Regions from separate parts of the Homo sapiens genome. Here region 1 is linked to region 2. The links are contacts of gene promoters, found by promoter capture Hi-C in blood cells and fetal thymus (Javierre and others, 2016). All regions are on one chromosome and are shown on one strand. Each heading gives the region's core, a stretch centred on a gene start or on the middle of the fragment in contact. The rest is flanking DNA. Distances are from core to core; before and after follow the strand shown.

The links. Contacts are between HindIII fragments. The CHiCAGO score rates a contact against its expected background, and 5 or more counts as called.
Region 1: a fragment that was not itself captured here is called in contact with the fragment with the promoter of EMC7 in region 2 in 7 of 17 cell types (total B cells, monocytes, naive CD4 T cells and 4 more); the score reaches 7.5 in total B cells.

The regions. Positions count from the first base shown.
Region 1 is chr15:34,242,709-34,245,408 of GRCh38, forward strand. It overlaps SLC12A6 (solute carrier family 12 member 6), which reads right to left. Exons shown (of 26, transcript NM_001365088.1): 15 at 2,577-2,695; 16 at 1,266-1,364. LOC124903461 (a long non-coding RNA gene) reads left to right here and starts at 418. Exons shown (of 2, transcript XR_007064576.1): 1 at 418-1,233; 2 at 2,544-2,700. The HindIII fragment of the contact is 4,431 bases long and covers 1-2,700 here.
Region 2 is chr15:34,100,431-34,103,130 of GRCh38, forward strand. EMC7 (ER membrane protein complex subunit 7) reads right to left here and starts at 1,432. Exons shown (of 5, transcript NM_020154.3): 1 at 1,174-1,432. The coding sequence starts at 1,409. PGBD4 (piggyBac transposable element derived 4) reads left to right here and starts at 1,653. Exons shown (of 1, transcript NM_152595.5): 1 at 1,653-2,700. The coding sequence starts at 2,102. RefSeq lists enhancers at 576-1,433, 1,043-1,742, 1,773-1,862. The HindIII fragment of the contact is 6,792 bases long and covers 60-2,700 here.

The DNA.
Region 1 (2,700 bases), core at 201-2,700, 140 kb after region 2:
TTAGCATAACTGCAGAACTCACTGAGAAAAATTATTTTTGGGCCGGATGCGGTGGCTCACAGCTGTAATCCCAGCACTTTGGGAGGCTGAGGCGGATGGATCACAAGGTCAGAAGACTGAGACCATCCTGGCTAACACGGTGAAACCCTGTCTTTACTAAAAATACAAAAAATTAGCCGGGTGTGGTGACGGGCGCCTGTAGTCCCAGCTACTCGGGAGGCTGAGGCAGGAGAATGGTGTGAACCTGGGATCTCAGCTCACTGCAACCTCCGACTCCCGGGTTCAAGCGATTCTCCTACCTCAGCCTCCTGAGTAGCTGGGATTACAGGCATGTGCCACCATGCCCGGCTACTTTTGTATTTTTAGTAGAGACGGGGTTTCCCCATGTTGGTCAGGCTGGTCTCAAACTCCTGACCTAGGTGATCCGCCTGCCTTGGCCTCCCAAAGTGCTGGGATTACAGGCATGAGCCACCACGCCCGGCCTCATAAAGAACTTCTAACTAACATTAAAGCTAGAAAGAGGATTTGAGGCATTAAAAATCAGTTGAAGATTTTAATTTTTGCCCAGTAAACGTTACATCACTGCCCACCATTGGTAAGTGAAGACAGAAAGGGAACAAGGAGAAAGTTAGCAAAGAAGAATGTAGCAACGGGTACATACAGGACATAATTAATGAGCTCTGAGCTATAAGAGGAAAGAGATGGGATGGTAGCCAAAAATCTTTCATGATGACCCCTTCAGGACTGGGGAGACTTAACTACAACAGCAGCAGCAGCAACAGTTCATTGAGAGCTGAGCTTTACTATGTATCAGGCACTACGATAAGCACTTTAGATTTATTAGTCCCATTTTACAAATGAATAAAATTAAATTTTACATGGTTATGTGCTTTGCTGAAGGTTACAAAGCTAGGAAATAGTAGAGCTGAGATTGGAATTTAGAACCTCTGACTCTGTAACCCTAAGAGACAAACAGGAAAATAAACATGCAAGAGAAGGTTGTTTTAACCTGAAAATTATAGAAGGCTGGATATCTCTATTTAGTGCTTTTGCTCTATTCGTATTGGGTGTTATAAGTTATTATAAAGTGATATAGGAAAATAGGATAGGAGGATGAGGATTCAGATAAGAATTGAAAGTTGAAACAGTATGAAATGGCTGACCAAGAAAAAAATTTTATCGAGAACCCAGACTCTCCTAGTTTTCTAGTTCAAAGATGGGTTCTCTCCAAACGTGAGTAAAAAGAATAAAAGAAGCAGACTTACCAATGGTAGTAGCGGAATCGGGGTCTCCAGTTGGGTGTTCGAAGTAATGTTTGCAAGGCACATGCCAAGTTTACAAAGAGGTAACACATGAGAAAAAACCTGAAGAATAAAGAGTAAGAGGAATGATTATTACTGGAAGATGATTCTTTGAAGGTTAAGTAACTGAATACCTTTGCTGTATTGAAGCCTGTTTCTAGACAACTAACCCTTGATTAAGTAGGAAGTAGGGAAACTTAAACCTCTCCCCACAAAACTGTTCATCCTTCTCTGTTCTCTCAGTCAATGACACAACCACTCTTTACCCAGTTGTTCTTAGGATAATCCAGGTTTCCTCTTCCTTACCCTTGTTCCAAATTCACTTACCAAGTCCTATGGATTCTATTTAAAAATCTCTTAAGCTGCTTCTCTTCCTTTTCATCTCTACTACTAATCACCTTAGTTCAGGCTCTCATTTCTTCTTTCCAATTAGCATTCCCAGCTCAATTCTAGCCTCCTTCTAATCCATCTTTTATACAAGATTGATCATCCTAAAGCATTATCATTTTGTGCTCAAGGATTACCCACTACTTCCAGGTAAAAGTTCCAGGACCTTTGTGATCTGGGTCTACCTACTTCTCTATTCTGTTATTCCCTCAACATGTACCCTCCACTCTAGCCAAGCCAAACTACTTCCAGTTCTCTGGATGTGCTACCTTATGCCATCCCTCAATTCCTTTATATGCATTCTCTGCCTGGAATGTTCTTCACCCCTTATTTTCTTAGCAAATAACCAGTTATTCTTCAAGATACAAGTATCACTTCCTCCGGAAAATCTTTCTTGAGTTTCCATCTGTTTAGATGCCTTGCTCTGGTGTTCCTAGGGCACTCAGTGTTCACCTTTATCATGGCACTCATCACGCTATATGGGAATCATTGGTTTCCTTATCCATTATCAGTTCCATAAGATTGTGTCTTATCCATCTTTGTATTCCCAGAATACCACATTACACAGTGCCAGGTAAGTAGTAAGCATCAATAAGTCATAGGTGAATAAATAAATAAAAACTAACAGTGGTGGTAAAAGCTACAACCAATTGACAATGAATTAGAAATGAAGCCAAAGAACTTTTGAAGTTAAATAGGTAGGAAAAAACCTAATAACTTACAAAAGTTAGCCTTACTTGGAAGTTCTCAGGAATGATTTTTATTTAAGTGAAGTTACATCTGTATTTAGCCCACTCTGTTATCACTACTGTTATATGACTGATGGAAATAAACATGCATTATTTATCATTTAAGCAAGAATAACTGAAGAGAATCACTGGCTCTTACATGGAAAGAATTGGGGCCACAAGATCCAGGGAGGCAATGAGTATTCCAAGCTCTGCAATGGCAGCAGTTAGAAGTAAAGCCCAGGTAGGTTCCCCATTGGCTTTGCTGTGGCCAAAAACCTGTA
Region 2 (2,700 bases), core at 182-2,681:
TTTTTAAAAGAACTGTATACAGAAGAGTGGCCAAATGGTCAATTAAGGCTTATTCCTAAAGCTTAATGAGAACTTTATCATTAAAACATCATTAATTAGGGTAAACTCTAACGAATGCCCTAATGCCAGATTCTTAATGACAGACAGCAGTAAAATACTGGTTGTAAATTTGTCACTATTTATTAATCTGAGGTTGAATAACCACTCAAGGGCACTTAGATGATCTGAACAAATATGTAAATCAGATTTGGATTTAAATGTCTACATTTAAGTTGTCTGATTTTCAGATACCATTTGCTGGTGTACGAACCCACCAAAGGAAATACTTCCTAATTATTTGCTTTCAGTTTACAGTTTCACCTCCAAGTAAGGGTGGAAAGATTTAAAACAACATACGCGTGCCTAGACATTTCAAAAGCAGGCTGCTGCAAAACTAGTGCTAACAAATTCATCCTGTCTTTTAATATAGACAGAAAACCCACTTCCACTAATAGCATGAAAGGACAGAAGCAAGAAAGCAATGTAGAGGAACCCTAGTCTCACATAAATGACAAGTGTGATATAGCAAATCTCTCGATGAATTCAACTGTAAAAAAGAACAACGATCCCACCCCCAAGCAAAAAAAAAAAGAAAAAAAAAGTGCTTTGATTAGGGATTTCAGAGCCTATTAATTTTAGAAGCAGTAACATTAGCCTCCCAGTCTATGTCGTCACTAGAAGCCCTTTGGGTTTTGAGAATTCCCACTTGTGTCGCATCTTTCTACATAATAACAAGCTACCAAAAGACTGAAGTGAATGCAAAAAACGACTAGGTTCTAGGGAAACCAGATGAGATATAAAAGAATCCAACAAGAGACTAATAAGGGTCCACCTGTCCCCAGGGCCCAGGAATGATCGTCCCCACATGGGGCCAAAATAAGGTTGGAAATAACTGACTCCATGCTCTGACCATGGCAGGGGGTGAGCGCCTGCCATGCTCATTCCAGAGGTACAGGACCAGGAAAGGGAAAGCATCCGACTGCCTCCCAAGGTCTCCCGGCATAGACCGTTAGCGGCACCCTCCCCTTCAGTCTGAGACAGCGACGTTGTCCCGTCCTGACACTTAACTCTCCTGGTGGGGTCCCTGTCCGGCCTCCATCCCAGCCTTTTTCCCGCTGCCCTCAGGATGCTCACTTAAGGAAACCGACGTGCTCTTCTCCGTCTACCAGCACTCGGGCCGCCGAGATCCAGTCCTGAGGCTTCACCCCTGGAACAACTGCACGCCCCTCAATCTTGAAGCGATCTCCTATGCCGACCCCACTCCCTCCCGATCCCTCAGCAGCAGCCCCGGGCACCTCCGAGCTCTGGACATCCCCCGATAGCAGCAGCAGCAGCAGGACGGGAAAGAAGCCCCACAGAGCGGCCGCCATGACAGCAGCTCTGCACTCAGACCGGCAGCCCCGGAAGCCCTCCCAGTCTCCCGGCCGCCACCGCCGCCGCTGGCGGCTTGATGTTGTCATCACTGCGCGCCCGTTTCTGTCATAAGCTGTGGGATCCAACCAGAGGGAAGAGATCATGGCCGATCGACTAGCGAGGCGGAAGTAAGGCGGAAGTACTGCCCTTAACTCCCGGCACTCTGGATTGGAAGACGGCGCACAGAGCCTGTGTCAAGTGCCTATGAAGGGGACTGCCCATGAAGTGAAAGTCAAGTGTGTGTTGCTGCGGCAGCCACGGAGGCCAAGGACCTCACGGGAGTAAAAGATGACGAGACTGGCTTCGGGAGAAACACCATCCAGAAGAGACCTTTCAAAAAACTTCTAGAGACTCCCCAAGACGTATGAGATGAAAGGCTTCTTCTGTCTGTGTGCGTTTAACTCATTTCTCCTTAGCCCCGAGATTACGCGCTGCTGTGCCTGCGACTGCAGCGTTTACGCCGAGATAACTCGTGGATTACAGTGCCAACCTTACTCCCAAAGTTTGCCACGAAATATCTCGCTTCTGTTATTTTCGCATGGTTCTGGTATATTGACTTTTGAAACAAAAGACATCATTCTGTTTATAGCATTCTGTTTTTAGTAGTGGGATTTCCATCTACAAAATATAGTAATTCTCGATCGCTGAAATGTCAAATCCTAGAAAACGTAGCATTCCTATGCGTGATAGTAATACCGGTCTCGAACAGTTGTTGGCTGAAGATTCATTTGATGAATCTGATTTTTCGGAAATAGATGATTCTGATAATTTTTCGGATAGTGCTTTAGAAGCCGATAAGATCAGGCCTCTGTCCCATTTAGAATCTGATGGAAAGAGCTCTACATCAAGTGACTCAGGGCGCTCCATGAAATGGTCAGCTCGTGCTATGATTCCACGTCAAAGGTATGACTTTACCGGCACACCTGGCAGAAAAGTCGATGTCAGTGATATCACTGACCCATTGCAGTATTTTGAACTGTTCTTTACTGAGGAATTAGTTTCAAAAATTACTAGAGAAACAAATGCCCAAGCTGCCTTGTTGGCTTCAAAGCCACCGGGTCCGAAAGGATTTTCGCGAATGGATAAATGGAAAGACACTGACAATGACGAGCTCAAAGTCTTTTTTGCAGTAATGTTACTGCAAGGTATTGTGCAGAAACCTGAGCTGGAGATGTTTTGGTCAACAAGGCCTCTTTTGGATACACCTTATCTCAGGCAAATTATGACTGGTGAAAGATTTTTACTTTT